Regions from separate parts of the Homo sapiens genome. Here all the other regions are linked to region 4. Evidence: promoter capture Hi-C in 16 types of primary human blood cells and fetal thymus (Javierre and others, 2016). All regions are on one chromosome and are shown on one strand. The core of a region is centred on a gene start or on the middle of the fragment in contact, and the rest is flanking DNA. Distances in the headings are between cores, read along the strand shown. Region 1 has its middle 41 kb from the start of PDZD8. Region 2 has its middle 67 kb from the start of EMX2. Region 3 overlaps LOC105378502 (a long non-coding RNA gene). Region 4 holds the start of SLC18A2 (solute carrier family 18 member A2). Region 5 overlaps PDZD8 (PDZ domain containing 8). Region 6 holds the start of LOC105378502 (a long non-coding RNA gene). Region 7 has its middle 14 kb from the start of PDZD8.

What was found. Contacts are between HindIII fragments. The CHiCAGO score rates a contact against its expected background, and 5 or more counts as called.
Region 1: a contact is called between a fragment that was not itself captured here and the fragment with the promoter of SLC18A2 in region 4, in 1 of 17 cell types (neutrophils). The highest score is 18.2, in neutrophils.
Region 2: a fragment that was not itself captured here is called in contact with the fragment with the promoter of SLC18A2 in region 4 in 1 of 17 cell types (neutrophils); the score reaches 6.5 in neutrophils.
Region 3: a contact is called between a fragment that was not itself captured here and the fragment with the promoter of SLC18A2 in region 4, in 2 of 17 cell types (neutrophils and megakaryocytes). The highest score is 12.4, in neutrophils.
Region 5: a contact is called between a fragment that was not itself captured here and the fragment with the promoter of SLC18A2 in region 4, in 2 of 17 cell types (neutrophils and fetal thymus). The highest score is 17.2, in neutrophils.
Region 6: a fragment that was not itself captured here is called in contact with the fragment with the promoter of SLC18A2 in region 4 in 2 of 17 cell types (neutrophils and megakaryocytes); the score reaches 10.0 in neutrophils.
Region 7: a contact is called between a fragment that was not itself captured here and the fragment with the promoter of SLC18A2 in region 4, in 1 of 17 cell types (neutrophils). The highest score is 15.4, in neutrophils.

What each region holds. Positions count from the first base shown.
Region 1 is chr10:117,414,980-117,417,679 of GRCh38, forward strand. No RefSeq gene overlaps it. Among named protein-coding and RNA genes, the nearest start is that of PDZD8, 41 kb to the left of the region's middle. The HindIII fragment of the contact is 6,430 bases long and covers 1-2,700 here.
Region 2 is chr10:117,474,425-117,477,124 of GRCh38, forward strand. No RefSeq gene overlaps it. Among named protein-coding and RNA genes, the nearest start is that of EMX2, 67 kb to the right of the region's middle. The HindIII fragment of the contact is 3,930 bases long and covers 1-2,700 here.
Region 3 is chr10:117,451,991-117,454,690 of GRCh38, forward strand. The region is part of intron 1 of LOC105378502 (a long non-coding RNA gene); the gene reads left to right. Among named protein-coding and RNA genes, the nearest start is that of PDZD8, 78 kb to the left of the region's middle. The HindIII fragment of the contact is 6,683 bases long and covers 1-2,700 here.
Region 4 is chr10:117,239,681-117,242,380 of GRCh38, forward strand. It overlaps SLC18A2 (solute carrier family 18 member A2), which reads left to right and starts at 1,434. Exons shown (of 16, transcript NM_003054.6): 1 at 1,434-1,540; 2 at 1,999-2,134. The coding sequence starts at 2,014. It overlaps SLC18A2-AS1 (SLC18A2 antisense RNA 1), which reads right to left and starts at 2,317. Exons shown (of 3, transcript NR_184310.1): 1 at 2,205-2,317; 2 at 1,981-2,103; 3 at 1-501. The HindIII fragment of the contact is 8,499 bases long and covers 1-2,700 here.
Region 5 is chr10:117,368,607-117,371,306 of GRCh38, forward strand. All of the region lies in intron 1 of PDZD8 (PDZ domain containing 8), which reads right to left. Among named protein-coding and RNA genes, the nearest start is that of PDZD8, 5.5 kb to the right of the region's middle. The HindIII fragment of the contact is 3,952 bases long and covers 1-2,700 here.
Region 6 is chr10:117,435,622-117,438,321 of GRCh38, forward strand. LOC105378502 (a long non-coding RNA gene) reads left to right here and starts at 610. Exons shown (of 3, transcript XR_946344.1): 1 at 610-703. The HindIII fragment of the contact is 2,613 bases long and covers 1-2,562 here.
Region 7 is chr10:117,388,299-117,390,998 of GRCh38, forward strand. No RefSeq gene overlaps it. Among named protein-coding and RNA genes, the nearest start is that of PDZD8, 14 kb to the left of the region's middle. The HindIII fragment of the contact is 5,132 bases long and covers 1-2,700 here.

The DNA.
Region 1 (2,700 bases), core at 41-2,540, 180 kb after region 4:
GACTAGCTTGACCAACATAAAGAAACTCCTTTTCTACTAAAAATACAAAATTAGCCAGGCATGACGGCACATGCCTGTAATCTTAGCTACTCAGGAGGCTGAGGCAGGAGAATCGCTTGAATCCGGGAGGCGGAGGTTGCAGTGAGCCGAGATCGTGCGATTGCACTCTAGCCTGGGCAACAAGAGTGAAACTCCATCTCAAAAAAAAAAAAAAAAGAAAGAAAGAAAATAAAATAGCCAAGCATACACAAGAGCAGACAAGATGGTAAAATGAACCTCCATACATCTATCACTCAGGGACTCAGCATTTATCAAGATTTTGCTACATTTGCTTTCTAGTCTCGTTTTTAACTTTTACTTTGATGTATAATTTGTACACAGTAAAATTCATCAACCAATTTAAAGTGTATGGTTTGATGAATTTTTAAACTTTTATTATTTTGAAATAATTTCATACTTACAGAAAGTTGTAAAATAATACAAAGAATTTCCATATACCCTTCACTAAGATTCCCCAAGTGTTAACATTTTATCATTCTTGTTTTTATCATTACTCATCAAACTTTATCCACATACACATTGTTAATATTTTTCTGAATACACACACTGTTAAAAAAACAATTATGCCAGGTGCAGTGGCTCACACCTGTTATCCCAATACTTTGGGAGGCTAAGGTGGGAGGATCACTTGAGCACGGGAGTTCAAGACCAGCCTAGGCAACATAGTGAGACCTTGTGTCTACTGAAAAAGAAAAAGTAGCCAGGCGTGGAGGCTGAAGTGGGAGGATCACTTGAGCCTGGGTGATGGAGGCTGCAGTAAGCTATGGTTGTGCCACTTCACTCTAGCCTGGATGACAGAGTGAGACCTTGTCTTAAAAAAAAGAAAGAAAGAAAGAAAGAAAGAAATAATTATTCAATGATACTTGTCAAAACACACTAAGGAACACTTTATTCAGGACCATAGGTATAGGGGCCACTGTAACAGGGTCTTGCAGTGAGAGAGAGAGATTGAACTTAATTCTGAATACAACATGGGCAGGTGGGAGTTTACAGCCCAGAAGCACTGTGGGGTCAATGGATGGAAAATTACTAAGAGGAAACAGCAAGGGTAAGGGAGATTCTAGCTAAACGAACCTAACACTATTCTTGCTAAAGATAGGCCAACTTGATCAGACATCACCTGCGGAATGCTGGAGGTTGGTCAGATGTCAAGGATAGGGGTTTCTTGCTAAACTGACTTAGTGAGGTTCTTTGCTAAAACTGGACCTTATAGGAAGCACACAGATGGGCCTAGGAGGAGAATCAGAAGCCTGAATAAAGTTTGGCTAAGCAAAGAATCTTTGTCAACATGCTATTATTATTTTTCTGAACCATTTGCAGGTTAATGAATTTTCACAAATGTTTATGTCCATGTTATCAGCACTCAAATCAAGTTGTAGAACATTTCCAGTACTCCAGAAAGTTCCCTTGATACCCTTTTCCAAAGGCAATCAATGATCTTATTTTTTTTAATCACCATAGATTTGTTCTGCCTCTTCCTGACCTTAATGTAAATGGAATAACTCCTGTCTTTATTTTTGCTGAATTACTTTAAAGCCTATCCTAGGCCTCATGTTATTTCATCTTTACATACTCAGTAAGTATTTCTAAAAGTTATAGGCATTTTCTTAAGTAATCATGATGCCATTGTGGTTATATAAAATGTCTTCATACCAACTGCCTATGATTATTTCCTTTTTTTTTTTTTTTGAAACAGAGTCTTGCTCTGTCACCCAGGCTGGAGTGCAGTGGCATGATCTTGGCCCACTGCAACCTCTGCCTCCTGGGCTCAAGCCATTCTCCTGTCTCAGCCTCCGGAGTAGCTGGGATTACAGGCATGTGCCAGCATGCCTGGCTAATTTTTGTATTTTTAGTAGAGATAGGGTTTCACCATGTTGGCCAGGCTGGTCTCCAACTCCTGACCTCCGGTGATCTTCCCACGTTGGCCTCCCAAAGTGCTGGGATTACAGGCATGAAACATCGCACCTGGCCAATTATTTCCATTTTACAGGTGAGTACACGAGCTCAAGGAGGTGGAAAAATGTGCTCAGGGTCACCCAGGAAGTGACTGCAGAAGCAGGCAATCTCCCTGCAGAGCCTTACTTGACACTGCTTAGTCTCTGCTGCTGTTCTCAGTGCGGGTCCCCGGCGGAGGTTTTGGCTGCCTGGGGGACCAAGGAGTGGCTGACATCTCTGACGACCCTTTCTTGTGCTTTGTGTGGTCCCTCTCAGCTGGGGCCCTATAACACATGGCAATCCATAAATGCACTCACAGTGGCCCTTTGAGCCCCCCAGCCCACAGGCACACTCACTTATGCCACTATTTTTAGAGATGCCGCCTGCTGCCTTTCAAAAGACCAAAGAAAGGAAATAGCCCTGCAGTGGCTAAACAGATGGAGACCTGGTGGATGTGTTTGAAGGCTGCTGAGAGCTTCTCATTCCCACAGTCTAGACTTCGGAAAGGTGCAGAGACAAGTTAAGCCATCAAAATGCAGAAAAGACATATTCCTTTCATATTTTAGATCATAGTTGCAAATGAGTCCTAATAACACACAAATCCCTATTTGTATAAAAACATGTAAGTAAAACTGACGGTAACCTGTTCTTCCAGGAGACAGTTAGGTAGAAACAAGCCTAAAAGGATATGTTTCCCCCCCCTTG
Region 2 (2,700 bases), core at 48-2,547, 230 kb after region 4:
AAAAGTACAAAAAAGTTAGCTGGGCATGGGGGTGGGCATCTTAATCCCAGCTACTGAGGAGGCTGAGGCAGAATAATTGCTTGAACCTGGGAGGTGGAGATTGCAGTGAGCCGATATTGCATCACTGCACTCCAGCCTGGGCAACAGAGTGAGATTCTGTCTAAGAAAAAAAAAAAAATGGATCTAGTTAAGATCAGAAGTCTAGGGCTTCCATTTCAGAAATGTTTGGGGAGGGGCCATAGGAGATGGAGGATGGGGATGGATCCCTAATGAACAGACTAATGCCATCCTGAGGGAGTGAGTGCGTTCTCAATCTTCCAGGAATGGATTAGTTCCTGCAAGAGCAAGTAGTTAAAGAATCTGGCTTCCCCAGTTTCATTCTTTTTCTTGTCTTGTGATCTCTTTGCACTTTTCCTTCCCTTCTTTCCACCATGAGTGGAAGCTACCTAAGGCCCTCACCAGATGCAGCAGCCCAATCTTGGACTTTCCAGCCATCAGAATTGTGAGCCAAATAAACCTCTTTTCTTAATAAATTACCCATCTTCAGCTATTCTGTGATAGCAACACTAAAAGGACTAAGACGGGGCATTTTTAGAAACTGGTTTATTGAACTTTGAATTTTAAGTTGTATGTGTCCTAAGATGTGAGTCCTTCCAGGTACACTAAAGTTTCAGTAGTCTGTACACTATGAATAACTGTATGTGAGGAGGGTGTGTACATGTATGTATTATAGAAAAGGGCACAGTCCCAAGTCTAGGTTAGTGTGGCACAGGCCACAACAGCATGTGTGGGATTACGAAATGAACCCAAATGGAATGATTTCAGGCCCCTGCCCACCTCCAGGAACTCATGCCCCTCAACCTCTCCCCTTTATTCATGGTAGGCCATACTCACATTGGCTCAAATCCTGCGACCTAGGTTGGTCCAATTAGAGCAAAATTTAGGACTTTTTTCCAATAATTAGAGGGAGAGAAATACAATCTCTTTCTCTTCTGTTTGGAGCTACAGTAAGGAGCTTGAAGTGACTTTAAAACTATCAACTCCCCCACTTCTCACCCTGCATCAGGAGCTTCCAAAACCCTGGGTGAGGCAATGGCTTAGGGAAATTCTGTAGAATGGAGATTGGAAGTGCTATTACTTAGAATTTAGGAGTAAATCATCACCGGCTGACATCTCAGTTGTAAATGCTTTAGAGTTTATAAACTAATTTTGTATGTTTTATCTAAATATAAAGTGAAATCCAAAAAAAGGCCTTCCCTGAGAAATTACCACCCTCTGGTTTTGGAGTTGAAGACTTATTCTGAAGGGGTGTGAATTGCAAGATCTTTCTGAGATGCTATCTGGCAGTGTCTACTGCAATTTGAACATAGGTTTCCTCTGTCGCGTAAATCTTTTAGACCACTTTTAGAACTTTGTCCTACAAAATAAAACTGCCAGTACAGCAGGAGAGATGCACAGTAATTATTACAGGGTCATTTATAATAGTAGGAAACACACCAACAAACCAACAAAAATCCCTAAACCTGAAACAATTTGAATGTCCATCAACAGAAGACTGGTTAATAAAATCATGGCACCTCCACACAATAGGATGCTATGCAGCTGTTAAAAAAGAGTCAGAGCCATATCTCCTGAGCTGGAACAATGGCCAGGATATATTGTTAAATTTTTCAAAAGCTAATTGCTTGTCCCAGTTTTGTCTGGGGGAGAAAAGCCAATAGGGGAATGTGTATTCATAAGCATTACATTAAAAAAGCATGAATAAAAAAATCAATGATACACATCAAAATAGTAATCCTGAGAGTGGTGGGATTAGAAGGAAAGAGGAGAAGACCGTGAACTTTAAAATCTATATATTCCTATATAAAACTTTATATAGTGTGTGATTTGGTTCTATATTTATGCAATAAAGTAGAAAAATTTCCAACTTACTCTGAGGAGGAGCTGCCATTCCAAGCAGTGGGAAGTATGTTTCAGAGCTCTGTGGATGGCTGCTATTTTTCTCAGGGTCAAATCAGGACATCCAAATACCTGATTCTTTGCTCAGCCACCCAAGAAACATCTTCTGCACAACAGCGTGTGCGTGTGTATGTGTGTGTGGGTGTGTGGGTGGAAGGGGGGGCATACCTCCAGCCAGTCCCTATAAACCCCTCATCTCACACATCTTAATCCACAAAACCTCCAGGATAACCAAAAACAAACAAACAAACAAACAAACAAAAAAACATGGGTGGGGGTGCAGAACCACTGTTGGGAATGGAGTTCTAAAATGGAGGCTGAGTTTCCACACACAGAGGAAGTAGGTGGAAAATTTGACAAAACTCTGGAGATGGCTGGCAGAGACCCAGGAAAAATTAAATTATCTCCAGATTTGAGTTTTTCTGGTAGAGGCTTAAAATCTCCTCATCCCGTTGCATGGGGAGCACAGCTGGCAAAGGAGTGTTGTCCAACATTGGCCCCTGCTGGATTCTCCACTTCCTGTCCCTCCACTTCCTGTCTCTCTGCTTCCTATCTCTCCATTTCCTGTCTTTCTGCTTCTTGCCTGACTTGCCTCTCCTTAAGTATCCTAACCCGCTGCTCAATGCTCTGGGGCTGGCCTGGGAGTCCAGATGGCTCTGGGTCTCAGCCCCAGTAGAGTTGGCTCCTTTGTGGGAGAATTGTGCCCAGGTGGCCCCACTCTGGCTCCGCAGAACAACATCA
Region 3 (2,700 bases), core at 19-2,518, 210 kb after region 4:
GATCGTGATTTTTCTAAAGGGAAATTCACCTTCAGTTTCAGCTCGTTCATCAAGAGAAACACTTACCAGTATTACCAGAAACTGAAAACATAGTCCTCTAAGAACAAGGATTTGGAAACTTAGTCCTCTAAGAACAAGGAGTGATGCAAACTAAATTCTCATGAACCAACATGGAATGAGACAGCTACTAACCTGGGATTTTATTTTCTAATCAGACTCTTGTTTGGCAGGAGGTGGCCTTTCTGGGGTGTTGGTTACAGTCTATATCATGATTCATTTATGAGATTTCTTTGAGCTCTATTATCTGTATCCTTTTTTTTTGGCATATATTAAAAATTTTTTTAAAAAAGCAACATCTGGCTGGGCGCGATGGCTCGTGCCCATAATCCCAGCACTTTGGGAGGCCGAAGCGGGTGGATCACCTGAGGTCAGGAGTTTGAGACCAGCTTGGCCAACATGGTGAAACCCTGTTTCTACTAAAAATACAAAATTAGCCGGGCGTGGTGGTGCATGCCTGTAATCCCAGCTACTCAGGAGGCTGAGGCTGGAGAATAGCTTGAAACGAGGAGGTGGAGGTTGCAGTGAGCCAAGATCGCGCCATTGCACTGCAGCCTGGGTGACAAGAGTGAAACTCCGTCTCAAAAATAAATAAATAAATAAAATTAAAAAAATTAAAAAGCAACATTCCTCCATTCCTCAGCAATTTACTGTCCTAAGCCGGCATATTGGTTAAGACTACGATGTGGCAGAGACCACTAGGGGTCTCCCAATTTCACTCTCCTTTTCACATAGCCCGTTGGAATAAAAATAACATCTTCTAGCTTCTCCCACAACTGGGTGTGGCCTTGTGACAAGTTCTGGCCAATAGGATGTAAGGGAAGCATAGTGTACAACTTTCAATAAGTCCCCTTAAGGCAGGTGACATGCCCTTCTTTCCTTCATTTCTCCTTTTTTGCTGGCTTGAAGTAGATGAGATGGCTGGAGTGTGGCAGCTCTCTTGGTCCAGGAGGTGTAAATGGTGCTGCAGGTGGCAGCTCAGGGACGGCTGGTCCTGGGACTGTGGAGCTCCCACAGAAGCCCTGAACTGCTTCCCTCCAGCTCTCTCTTACAAGGGTCAGTAAACTTCTAGCTCACTTGAGTAACTATTTTGGGTTTTCTGTTATTTGTAGTCAAACTTAATCCATATGATAGGCACAAGAGTCAGCTGATTTTGAGAAGGGGGAAGAGAGAATGGATCAGCTTCAACTCCATTGGTAAATGCTTTGTTTCTTAAGCTGAATGGTGGGCATGCAGGTATGAATTATGTTATATTTTACACCTCTTTGGCATATCTAAGAATCACTTATTAGATCTTTTAAAAAGGCAATGGTAGAAGCAGTGTTAGAGCAAGACCATGAGTAGCACAGAAAAGAATCAAATAGAGGCAACTTTGGCTTCACCCAGGCTCTGCTCCCAGACTGGCTTTGGAGTTAGGGTCTGAATATAGCCTCTGAATAAGCCTCATGGACAGAAGAAACAAGACTTGAAAGGGCAAGGGTGGGTGTATTCATCCGTTTTCATGCTGTTGATAAAGACATACCCACGACTGGCCCAATTTACAAAAGAAAGAGGTTTAATTGGACTTACAGTTCCACGTGGCTGGGGAAGCCTTACAATCATGGCAGAAGGCAACAAGGAGCAAGTCATGTCTTACATGGATGGCAGCAGGCAGAGAGAGAGCTTGTGCAGGGAAACTCCCCCTTATAATAACCATCAGATCTCATGAGACTTATTCACTATCACGAGAACAGCACAGGAAAGACCTGCCCCCATGATTCAATTACCTCCCACCAGGTCCTTTCCACAACACGTGGGAATTCAGGATGAGATTTGGGTGGGGACACAGCAAAACCATATCAGTGGGTTCAGCCTGTGGGTACCAAAGCCAGGGTTTGGAAGCAAGAAGGGACAGGGAAAGAACCCAAGGTCTGGGCACCACTCTTTCCTCCACCTGCCTCAACCCAGGATGTTTTTGCTGTAGGCAAGTCCTGGAAGTCTCTTTTGACCACACCCTCCCACCCCCTCCTGTTCTCCACCAATCCCCACCTTCATTTTAAGGGATTTCATTGCAACCAGGTCAGCCAGATGTGATTAAAGTAAAACGTGGACATACTTGCCTCCTGGGCTCTAATCCTACCTCTCAGAGCCAGCCACAGTGAGCAGTAGAGCAAGCATGAGACCAAAGTAAAGGCTGGAACCCTAGAGGGACCAGGCAGACATCTCCAGCCACCGGTATCCTCTGCTGGGATCTGCCTCAGATGCCAGAGGCTGCACTGGCTGGGGAAAGGGCTTCAGCTGTAGTACTAGGGGAAGTACTAGGAACTCCTTGAACCTGTGACTCTGCTCACCTCTGGGATCAGGACATTTCGGGGAGGCAGGCATACCTCTTGCCTCACTGATCAAGATTCCTTCCTGGGGCCAGGGCTAGGACTGGGGCCCAGGTTGCTATGGAACACACAGTCCTTGTTTCCTGAACAGAATGGGAGTTCTATTCAGCAAGAAAGAGTGTAGAGGCATGGACTGGGGAAGGGGATGGCTGTGGGGTAGGCAGCCAACAACATCTGCCACTCCTCACCTCTCCCTGCTCAGGGAGGCAGGGGTTCTGATGGAGTCAGTACAGTTAGGAAATTTCTTCCTTCCTGGCTTATGATGACGGCTTCA
Region 4 (2,700 bases), core at 184-2,683:
TTGGGTTCTGAAACTCCAGAGCAAGCACTCTGGGGCACTCCCTGAGTGATACCCTCCTGCCATCTTAAACGGCTCTCTGCCATCTGCTTCCTCCTCCTAAGTGGTTTTCCTTCTGTCCTCCCTGTTTAATGTTTAAGTTGTGCACATCCTGTGACATCCTGGAGACCCATGTTCCTGACCTACTTACCTATTCAACCATCTCTTCTCACACATGGGGTAGCAATGAGAAGCACAGGGGGTCTCTGCAAGGGAGTAGGGAGGTGGAGAGAGCGGGGGCAGCCACACATCACACTGCTGTTCTCAGTGGCCTCCTGCTGTCAACAAGCTAACATTAATAAAACAAGCCCACTCTTCTGCTAAGAGACTGTGACAGGGTAACATTTATTCTAGGTAGCTTTTCAAGAAAACAGCTCTTGCTCCCACGGTCCCCTCGGAGGGCCTGCAGAGCTCCAGCGATGTCAGAGGGCATCTGTTTGTTTCTCCTTTGCTTATAAAAGGGACCTGGAAATCAAAGGCAGGCTCTTAGCCCTTAGCAGTGAGGATGACAGCTCTGCACCAGCCACACGCAGGCCCCTGGCTCTAGGAACCACCTCTCACCCAGACGCCCAGGCACAGCATGGTGGGGAGAGAGTACAGGACACAGGGCCTAGGCCTGCTGCCCCGCCCACAGCCCGCCCCCTAGCCCTTTCTCTGAGGCCAGGTGTACTCACCTAGCCTCCAGGGTCCCCTGCTCAGGTGGCCCCAGAGGCCCAAACCCACTGCTCCCACTTTCTGAGACCTGGGACCCTCACCTCCCCAACTCCCACCATAGGGCGACACTGAAAAGTGTCCCCTTCCCCCCCCCGTTTCCAAGTCACCAGCTTGAGGATGCCCAAGGCTCAAAGGCTCCTCCGAGTGGCACCCCGCATCGGGCTGCAGAGGTCGGAGAGGGGAGGGGATGGTGGGTGCAAAGGGTGGCTTCTTCAGGAAAGGGAAGCCTGTCCCTGGCTCCCAGCACCTGTCACCCCTGGCGATCTCACCCCGCGGCCATCATTCCCGTCCTCACGGCCCATTTCAGGGACACTGAGGCTCAAAGAGCCACGTGATTTATTCAAAGCAGCTCGAGCCACCACTTGGAGCCACAAGAAAGCCCTGGTCCGTGCCTCCTCGCCTTGGTCCCTGGCCCTTCACTCTTCGTCCAGGCTCTCTGACCTCTTTCCCTCTGCGCCCCTGCCTCTTCCCCAGGCCTGGGTCCCCAAGGCACTCGGCCACGCGCTGGGTCCGGGGAAGAGGCGCGGCCGCGGCCGAGGCGGGGACAGGGAGGCGGCAGCCCCTCCTGCGCAGCGACGGCGCGGGCGGGCGGAGGCCGGGGCGCCCCAGCCCCCCGCCCCCGCTCCCTCCGGCCGTGACGTCAGAGCCGGACGGGGTAAACTGAGCGGCGGCGGCGGGGCGCTGGGGCGGAGACTGCGACCCGGAGCCGCCCGGACTGACGGAGCCCACTGCGGTGCGGGCGTTGGCGCGGGCACGGAGGACCCGGGCAGGCATCGCAAGCGACCCCGAGGTAACACGGCCCCGGTTCCCTGCTCGCAGGGCGCGGTGCCGGAGGGGAGCGGGCCCGGGGGAGGCAGGGAGGCAGGGAGGCCCCCAGAGCTACGCGGGCGGGGCTGCGGGGACCCCGGGGCAGCCGGGGCGCAGGGCGCAGGGCGCAAGGTGCACGGGGCCGAGCGTGCAGTTTGGGAGGTGGCACAGTTGGGGGCGGCGGGGATCAGGGCAGCGTCCTGGGGGTTCTAGGTTGGGTCTCCAGATTGGGTCCCCGACGGCGCTCGCGGGCGCTCTTTCCAGGGAGCGCGGGCTCTCGTGGGGACGCGCTCGAGGCAGGTGAGCCGAGGCTGGGGCGCCCGGGGGTGTCCCCGGATGCCGGTGCGCGCGGCTCCCTGACCCGCCCTTCCGCGGCCTGGGGGACGGGAGAATGGGGGGTCCACGGCCGCCTTGGGTCCTCACCGCGCACCGCGCCCGCAGCGGAGCCCCGGAGCCATGGCCCTGAGCGAGCTGGCGCTGGTCCGCTGGCTGCAGGAGAGCCGCCGCTCGCGGAAGCTCATCCTGTTCATCGTGTTCCTGGCGCTGCTGCTGGACAACATGCTGCTCACTGTCGTGGGTACGTGCGGACAGGGCACCCCTGCCCCGGCACCCCAGCCCCAGCGCCCCTTCCCCGGCACTCCACTTACCCCTGCGCGGTCCCGGAGCTCCGCCAAGGCCCGGGAAAGTTGGAGAACTCGCTTTGCAAAAAAGACATCCCCTCCAGGCTGCCGCGCCGGGGCTAGGAGGAGCCGCGTTGTGTGGCTTCGCTTTCCTGATGCTCGGGTCAAAAACTGTGACATCCGATAAGACCCAGAACTTATGTTTCCCCCTGATAATTTCCCGCATCCTCTTGCCTGCTTTCACTGCGATGAAAAAGATTTCTGTTCCAAAAGAGAAATTCCTAAAGTTCAAAATTACGTGTTAGAATAATTATTGGGCTACTCGAAAAGGCAGGTTAGTAATTTGGTGTAGTACCTAAAAGAGCAAGTTTCGATCCCTTACTCCAAAAACAAGACATTTAGATATACTGTATTAGTGAATGACTTGAGATGGAAATATTTCAGGAACCATTGCAAGAACAATTTGAACAATCTTGGTTCTATTATTTTTCCTATAGTGGAATTTTGAAAAATTAAATAATCG
Region 5 (2,700 bases), core at 177-2,676, 130 kb after region 4:
CAATTCATTAAATTCAAATATACTGTCAATAAGTTGATGCCCCCCTTTTTGGAGATCAGTGAAGTAAATGCTTACATAGTTATTAATGACCCATTCCACTAAAGCAAACTATCCACCAAACTCGAACAAAAAGGAGACACTATCTACTTACCATCACTACATGGTAGAAAAATGGATTGCATTTCAAGGCATTTTTTTTTTTCTGGCAGAGTGACTTTTTAAAATTCAACATTATATTGACAATGTTTTTTTTTTTTTTTTTTTTTTTTGAGACAGTCTCACTCTGTTGCCCAGACTGGAATACAGTGGCGCAATCTTGGCTCACTGCAACCTCCGCCTCCTGGGTTCAAGCAATTCTCATGCCTCAGCATCCCCAGCAGCTGGGACTGCAGGTGCGTGCCATTTTTAGTAGAAGCGGGGTTTCACCATGTTGGCCAGGCTGGTCTCGAACTCCTGACCTCAAGTGATCCACCCACCTTGGCCTCCCAAAGTGCTGAGATTACAGGCATCAGCCACCACGCCAGGCCTGACAATGTCTTTTATTTATTTATTTATTTATTTTTACTTTTTGAGATAGAGTCTTGCTCTGTTGCCCAGGCTGGAGTGCAGTGGTATGATCTCGGCTTGCAGCAATCTCTGCCTCTCGGGTTCAAGCGATTCTCCTGCCTCAGCCTCCTGAGTAACTGGAATTACAGGCATGTGCCACCATGCCCAGCTAATTTTTGTATTTTTAGTAAAGATGGGGTTTCGCCATGTTGACCAGGCTGGTCTCGAACTCCTGACCTCAAGTGATCCGCCTGCCTTGCCCTCCCAAAGTGCTGGGATTACAGGAGTGAGCCACCGCACCTGGCCAACAATGTCTTTTAAAAAATAAAATTGCTCTATGACAGTCCCTTCAAAAATGTAATTAAAAGAAGGATAAAAATGATCACTCTCCCTCTCCACTCCAGCTATTAAGTCTTCTCATTTTCACTAATCAGCAACAGTAATGCTCCCTATTTACTCCTCCAGTACGGGTCTCAAATTCATATAACTCCAAGCCAGGCAAGTACCATCAATTAAGCACAGCAAATAAGGGGGGACTATAAACTCCACCTAGGAGCTTACACACCGAGTTTCAACCCCAAAGCTGCTACTACAGTCCATCTCTCCATCCTGTTGTTGCTCTGAGAAATGCAGCACTGGCGCTACAAGATATTCCAATTTTTCCTAACAGAAGCCACAAATCCAAAACACACAGAATTTTCCATTTTTTAAACAGTGCAGGCCAAATTAAAAGTACCTGCAAACTGAATCTGCTTGTCTATATACAATAATACTCCAGGAACACAAGCATCCGTAAGAATCTCAAATATTTGACTCCTAAACCCTAAACAGAGCTCCCCACCCAGACACTATTACTCAGACTCCATGTTTAAGATGAATTATCCACGTAGTAAAAGAACATTAGTGGTAATCTTTCTCCCTTGAGGATGGATTCTGAGGTTCATTTAAAAAAATATATTGCTATTATAATATACTATTTTAATTAAAAAATCAAACCAATTAACATTGAGGTGGATGAATGAAATTCCTAACTTGAATAAATCTGTAAACATATTGTCTACATATTATAATTCATTTTGTAAAATAAAATGTTTTACAAACATTGTAAGTTTGTTAACTTGGGTAAAATGAAATGTCAGTCAGCTGGGTCCTTAGAAAGCAACCACTTGAGCAACTTAGCATCTCTAGGTGAAACATCAGGAACTGGCAGTCCAGAGAGGCTGATTCACTTTAGCAACACGAAAAAGGCAAAATAAATGAAGGGGGAAAGAAGTAATAACAACGTTAACTGGCAAGATATTTGTTATGTAATGATTACAAATGCCAAAGGATCGTAAGACTCCATACAATTCTCTTTACTGCTTTAGCTCTACTAAGAAGATTAGATAGCTAAAAAAGAATAAACTAGGCCGGGCACAGCGGCTCACACATGTAACCCCAGCACTTTGGGAGGCCGAGGTGGGTAGACTGCCTGAAGTCAGGAGTTCGAAACCAGCCTGGCCAACATGGTGAAACCTGTCTCTTCTATTTGGAAACACAATTCTGCTCAATTAAAAAAGAAATGCCACGTGGGACAGTACCCAAAGATTTAGCCTCATGATTTACTTTTAAAAGGATCCTCTAAAATGACCAATTTAAGAAAAAAAAATCAGCTTTATAGTCATACTCTTCTCAAGAGTTCTAGGTTAGTTTGGAAAGATATCCCACATATTTACTATATCGATGGCATGCTTTTAAAAAATAAATCACTTAAGAACAACATAGTTTGTGTGTGTGTGTGTGTGTGTGTGTGTGTGTGTGTTTAAAGGTGGCCTGGCCTTATCAGAGCTGCGTTTCAACACTTGAAAGCTGTGTGACTTTAAGCAAGTTATTTAACTACTCCGAGCTCCATTTCCTCATCTGTAAAAAAAGATGAACACTAGCTAGTTTAATTTTCCCTGTGAGAAGTATGCTATATCTTAGATGTATTGTAATTCATTCTTATCTGAAACTTGAATCAGTCCCACATCATCACCAGTTTGTTTATTTATTTATTTACTTATTTATTTTGGAGACGGAGTCTCACCCTGTCGCCCAGGCTGGAGTGCAGTGGTGCGATATCGGCTGGCTGCAACCTCTGCCTCCCAGGTACAAGCCATTTTCCTGCCTCAGCCT
Region 6 (2,700 bases), core at 6-2,505, 200 kb after region 4:
TCATCATTCCCAGGAATGTCTTGATGCTGTTGCCGTTTGTGTATGAATCTCTAGGTAATACATAATCTTTTATATGTTTTAAAACTCTGTGGGCTGGGCAAGATGACTCATGCCTGTAATCCCAGCACTTTGGGAGGCTGAGGCAGGAGGATCACTTGAGCCCAGGGGTTAGAGACCAGCCTGGGCAATATAGTGAGACCCTGTCTCTACAAAAATAAAAAATTTGCTGCATGTGGTGGTACATGCCTGTAGTCCCAGCTACTTGGGAGGCTGGGGTGGGAGAACCACTTGAGCCTGGGAAGTTGAGGCTGCTGTAAGCTATGAGTGCCATGGCACTTCAGCCTGGGTGACAGAACAAGACTCTGTCTCAAAAAATTTTTTTTGGTATGTACATAACATCATAGTGTATCATTCTTCTGCTTTTTCACTCAACACAATGCTTGACATCAAATGTGAGATTTGCACGTTTTTACCTGCAGCTCAAGTTCATTTATCTCCTTCCAGTGTAAGGTTGAAACTCCTGCTCCCAAAATGTAAGAAGTGGAGGGAGAGAGACTCTTTGTGACTGAACTGTTTGCCCCTACTTTTTTCCAGCCATCCTCATTTTCTGGAGAGGCAGCGTGACCTAACGACGAAAGCCTCCACAACTGGTTTCTGTCGGTGTGAGTCCCAAATCTGCCACTGGCTGGCTGGGAAACCTTGGGTAAGCTACTTAACCACTCTGTGCCTCAGTTTCCTTGTCTGTAACATGAGAACAAGAATGCCTTCTACCTACTTCATAGCATTGTTTCTAAAACACTTAGTGCAGTTGCTGGTTTGTAGTGCAGTATTGGTAAGGTTAGCTATTACTCTTTTATTTGAGTTGTTTACAAGCAGATGGTATGGAACACAGCTCCATGAAGTATGGTCCCAATCACTAGGGCCTGATCCCTGCCTTGCAGGGAAGGGCAGCTACACAGTCTGGGATTCTCTGCATTTGAGAAAGCTGGGTAGCTGACATTAGGAAAGCTGATTGTTTGCTTGTTCTGTTTGATATTTTGCCAGTGGCTTCTGGCACAGCCGTGAAGACAGGGTTCCCAGTTTCTCATCCATCACCACCTTTGATCTACCCAGCTCCCTCCATGCCATCTTTATTATTGTTCCCATCACACAGATGAGTAAATGGGCTCAGAGATGTGAGGTGACCTGCCAATAATAGGTGGCATCCCTGAGACTGGAACCAAGTCTGCTCATTCTTAATCCTGGGGCCTTTAGCCATAGAGTGGGCCTCTCCAACTACTACTGATTGTTTTCTTGCTTGAGGGCAGGGACAGGACCCTGGGGCTCAGAAAGGAAGAGAGGCACTTTTCAGGGCCACTCGCCCTGTCACAAGTATGATCTGCTGTTGGCCTTGCGTCCCCAGCGATCAGATGGAAGAGAGCCAGTTTAGAACTAGAGGGGGTTTTATATGTGCTTTTTTTGCTTCTGTTTTTCCTTGAACACTTTAATTGAGTGGTTAAAATCTACCTTCCGGCCAGGCGTGGTGGCTCACGCCTGTAATCCCAGCACTTTGGGAGGCTGAGGTGGGCGGATCATGAGGTCAGGAGTTGAGAGCATCCTGGCCAACATGGTGAAACCCTGTCTCTACTAAAATACAAAAAATTAGCCAGCCATGGTGGTGCACACCTGTAGTCCCAGCTACCTGGGAGGCTGAGGCAGGGGAATTGCTTGAACCTGGGAGGTGGAGGTTGCAGCGAGCCGAGATCGCACCACTGCACTCCAGCCTGGGTGACAGAGCAAGGCTCTGTCTCAAAAAAAAAAAAAAAAAAAAAAAGCGTACCTTCCAAATTCCTAACAAGCTGCATGGCAAGTAGGATGAGTGTCAGGGGAATCTGTGGGTAGGTGATGACTGTGGAGGCGGATGGTGGTCAGCCCATGTGGCTTTCATTCATCCAGACATGCAAGTTTTGGCTTGCCTCACCTTGAGCTGGAGTTTTCTCAGAGGAAAATATGTCAAGGTAGACAGATTCTCTCCTTTATGAGATGTCATATGACTATTTTTGCATGCAGTTATTTCTTTTCTTTTCTTTTTTTTTTGAGACGGAGTCTTGCTCTGTCCCCCAGGCTGGAGTGTAGTGGCACGATCTCAGCTCACTGCAAGCTCTGCCTCCCAGGTTCACACCATTCTCCTGCCTCAGCCTCCTGAGTAGCTGGGACTACAGGTGCCCACCAACACGCCCGGCTAATTTTTTGTATTTTTAGTAGAAACAGGGTTTCACCGTGTTAGCCAGGATGGTCTTGATCTCCTGACCTTGTGATCCGCCCGTCTTGGCCTCCCAAAATGCTGAGATTACAGGCATGAGCCACTGTGCCCAGCTGCAGTTATTTCTTTTTAAACTAATTCATAATGGCAGAGCTCACCACCATAATCAGTTTCTGTTTCCATTATAAATCCAATTTTGGAGGGTAATGGTGTCTGCCATTTCATCTTGCTTAGGGCTTCAGCTTTATATTCTCTCTCTCTCTCTCTCTCCTCTCTCTCTCTTAAAGGAAGCAGTTGCATGCATGTTTAAAGAAACTAAAAGCTTGGGCTTTTGGAGGATGGTTTAGCAATAGGAATTTAGGCAGGAAATAACAAATAGGTATCCTTGTGGACTTTGATTGGTTAGTAGTGGATGACTGGAGTATTGTGTTGAGAAGGATCCTGAGGCCATATCCAGC
Region 7 (2,700 bases), core at 35-2,534, 150 kb after region 4:
ACCCAGCAAGACAGTATCACAGCCCGGATCATAATCCTGGGGTCCTAACTCCTGGTGTCTCTTTTTCATCTTGTCCTCATACTTTTTCCATGCTCGCTTCACAAAATATTGGTTATTTTCTCTTTCTCAATGGAAGTGAAAAACTGACTCTAATAACACTTTCAGGAGAGTCTAACAATAGCTGTAAATTCTATCTGCTTTACACTTTAATACTGTTACTTACCAGTCTCAAAACTGCTTATCTTTCATTTGAGGCTGTTTGCTAATTTCCATTCTCCTTCACTACAATTCAGAACCTGAACTAAACCCTGGAGTTGTGAGGCTTCGCAGAAGGTCATTTTGATGGGTCCCCTTCCTGGGACAACAATAATCAAACCGTTTTTAGATAGCCGAGGCCTTAAATCAGCATTTATATTCCTCGTAAATTGTTGTGCAAGCCAGTCCACTTCTCTCCATCCCCTGAAATACCCCAGTCTGGGCCATTGTTATCTCTTGCTTTAATCCTGCCATTGCCTCCTAATTGGTCTACCTACCTTCGGCTTTCCTCGCCTTACTTTATTCTCTACTCTGCCCTCAGGACACATTAAGCTGATTCCTCCTTAAAGTTTTTCTACAGCTGCCCTTAGGCTTAAGGATGAAGTACTAGTTCCCAGTAACATCCTTCAGGCCTTTCACAATCCATCCCTTCACTTTCCCCTTTCCCCGTCACAGAGTTTGCTCCAGCCTGCCTGAGCTCTTGTGCTTCCTCCTGTGCTGACTTCTTTCTGGTATCTCCAGGCCTTTGCACATGCTGCTTCTTCCACCTGAAACTCTCTGCCTCTTCTCTTTGCAGGTAACCCTACCCTTAAAGTGTAGACTGAAATCTTCCTCTTTAGGAGACTCCCCTGGCCCTAACCAAGGCTTATCCCTTGCTATATCCTCATATAACATCCAATATATGTTCCCTCATCCTGGTGCTTATGGCAGAGACTGCTACTTGCTTCGTCCATATCCATTCACTCATTTCAAAGAAGAATTTGGGAACAGCAAATTGTTCAGATTTTAAAAATGACATTTCCCAACCAGCCTTGCAGATAAGAGTGGCCAATGAGATATAAGCAAAATTTTTGGGTGGGAGCTCAACAAAGGATTTTGATTTATTATCTCCATATCTCTTTTGTACTTCCCTCTCCCTCCCCTGGCCTGGAATTCAGATGTGATGGCTGGAACTTCAGTGGCCACTTTATAATCATGTGGTAACCTTGAGGATAGATGCCACACACTGAAGATGGTTGAGCAGAAAGACAGAATAAGCTCAGAACACTGATGACACTGAAGCTGAACTCAACTTTGCAATACCCACCTTGGAACTTTTTTTTTACATAAAAAAATTCCCCTTAAGCTGTCAAACTACTATTACAGGTCTCTGTTACTAGCAGCCAAATACACTCCTGACACAGTATTCACCACACTTTACTATCATCACTTGTACAATGTGTGTCTTGTAAACCACAGTTTCCCAGCACTCAGCACAGGGCCTCGCCCATAGTAAGTACTCAACTGGTATTTATTAAGTGAATGAATTTACATGACCTACTCTCCACTTTGGTGAGAAAGAGCCACCTTCTCCTGAAGCCCTAAGACCACTTGTTTGAAGGAAGAGGCTTTGTAGAGGGGAGCCAACACTGACACCAGAACGTCCTATCATGCTGGGAGAGGAGGGATCACTGCTGGCTCTGCTCCTCTGGCAAAGCCAGGGAAGGTAAGTAACTCTGGAAGAGAATAACATTGCTGCAGCAGCAACATGCTTGGAGATGGCAAGTCCTTGAGACTGCCAGTGGATCTAAATCTACTGTGTGGAGATCAGTGTAACTTTTGGGGCCCAAGAGCATATTCACCTCATCTCTACTTTCATTCAGTCCTTAGGTGATCTCATCCAGCCTCCTACCTTTAAATGCTATTCATATGTGTATGCTTCCAAATGCATTTACTCACTCTGAGCTCCTCTAGGAAACCCATATATCCAACAGCCTACCAGCCATCTCCACCTTGGTGTGAGATGACTTACTGTGTGTAAGACTGAGCGAATATCCATCCCATGAGAGTTCCTTGGGCATTTCCCGCCATATTTATCAATGGTACCTCTGTCATTCCAGTTGCTCAGGCCAAAAGCCTTGTGCTATCCTTGACTCCTTTCTCTCTTATCTGCATTCACACTTGCAACACATCCTATTGGTTTTACCCTCAAAATATATTCAGAGTTTCACCACTTCTCACCGCATTCACTATCATGGTTCAAGCACCATATTTGGCCTGATTATTGGAGTGGTCTCTTAGTTGGCCTCTCTACTTAAAGGTCTCTCTGGCCTTTGCTACCCTAATGTCTGTTTCAACACAGACACCACAGTGACCATGGTAAACCACAAGTCGGATCATGCCACTCAACTGTTTGAAACGTACCAGTGGTTTCTTGTGGGGGGGCCCAGAATAATGGCCCCCAAAGTTGTCCACATCCTAATCCCCAAAACCTGTGGATATATTACGTTACGTGGCAAAGGGGCGTTACTGTTGTGGGAGGAATTAAGGTTGCTAATCACCTGATCTTCAGATAAAGAGATTATTCTGAATTATCCAACTGGACCCAATGTAATCACAAAGGTCCTTAAAAGTGGAAGAGAGAGACAAAAGAGAAAGTCAGACTGATGCAATGGGAGAACGATT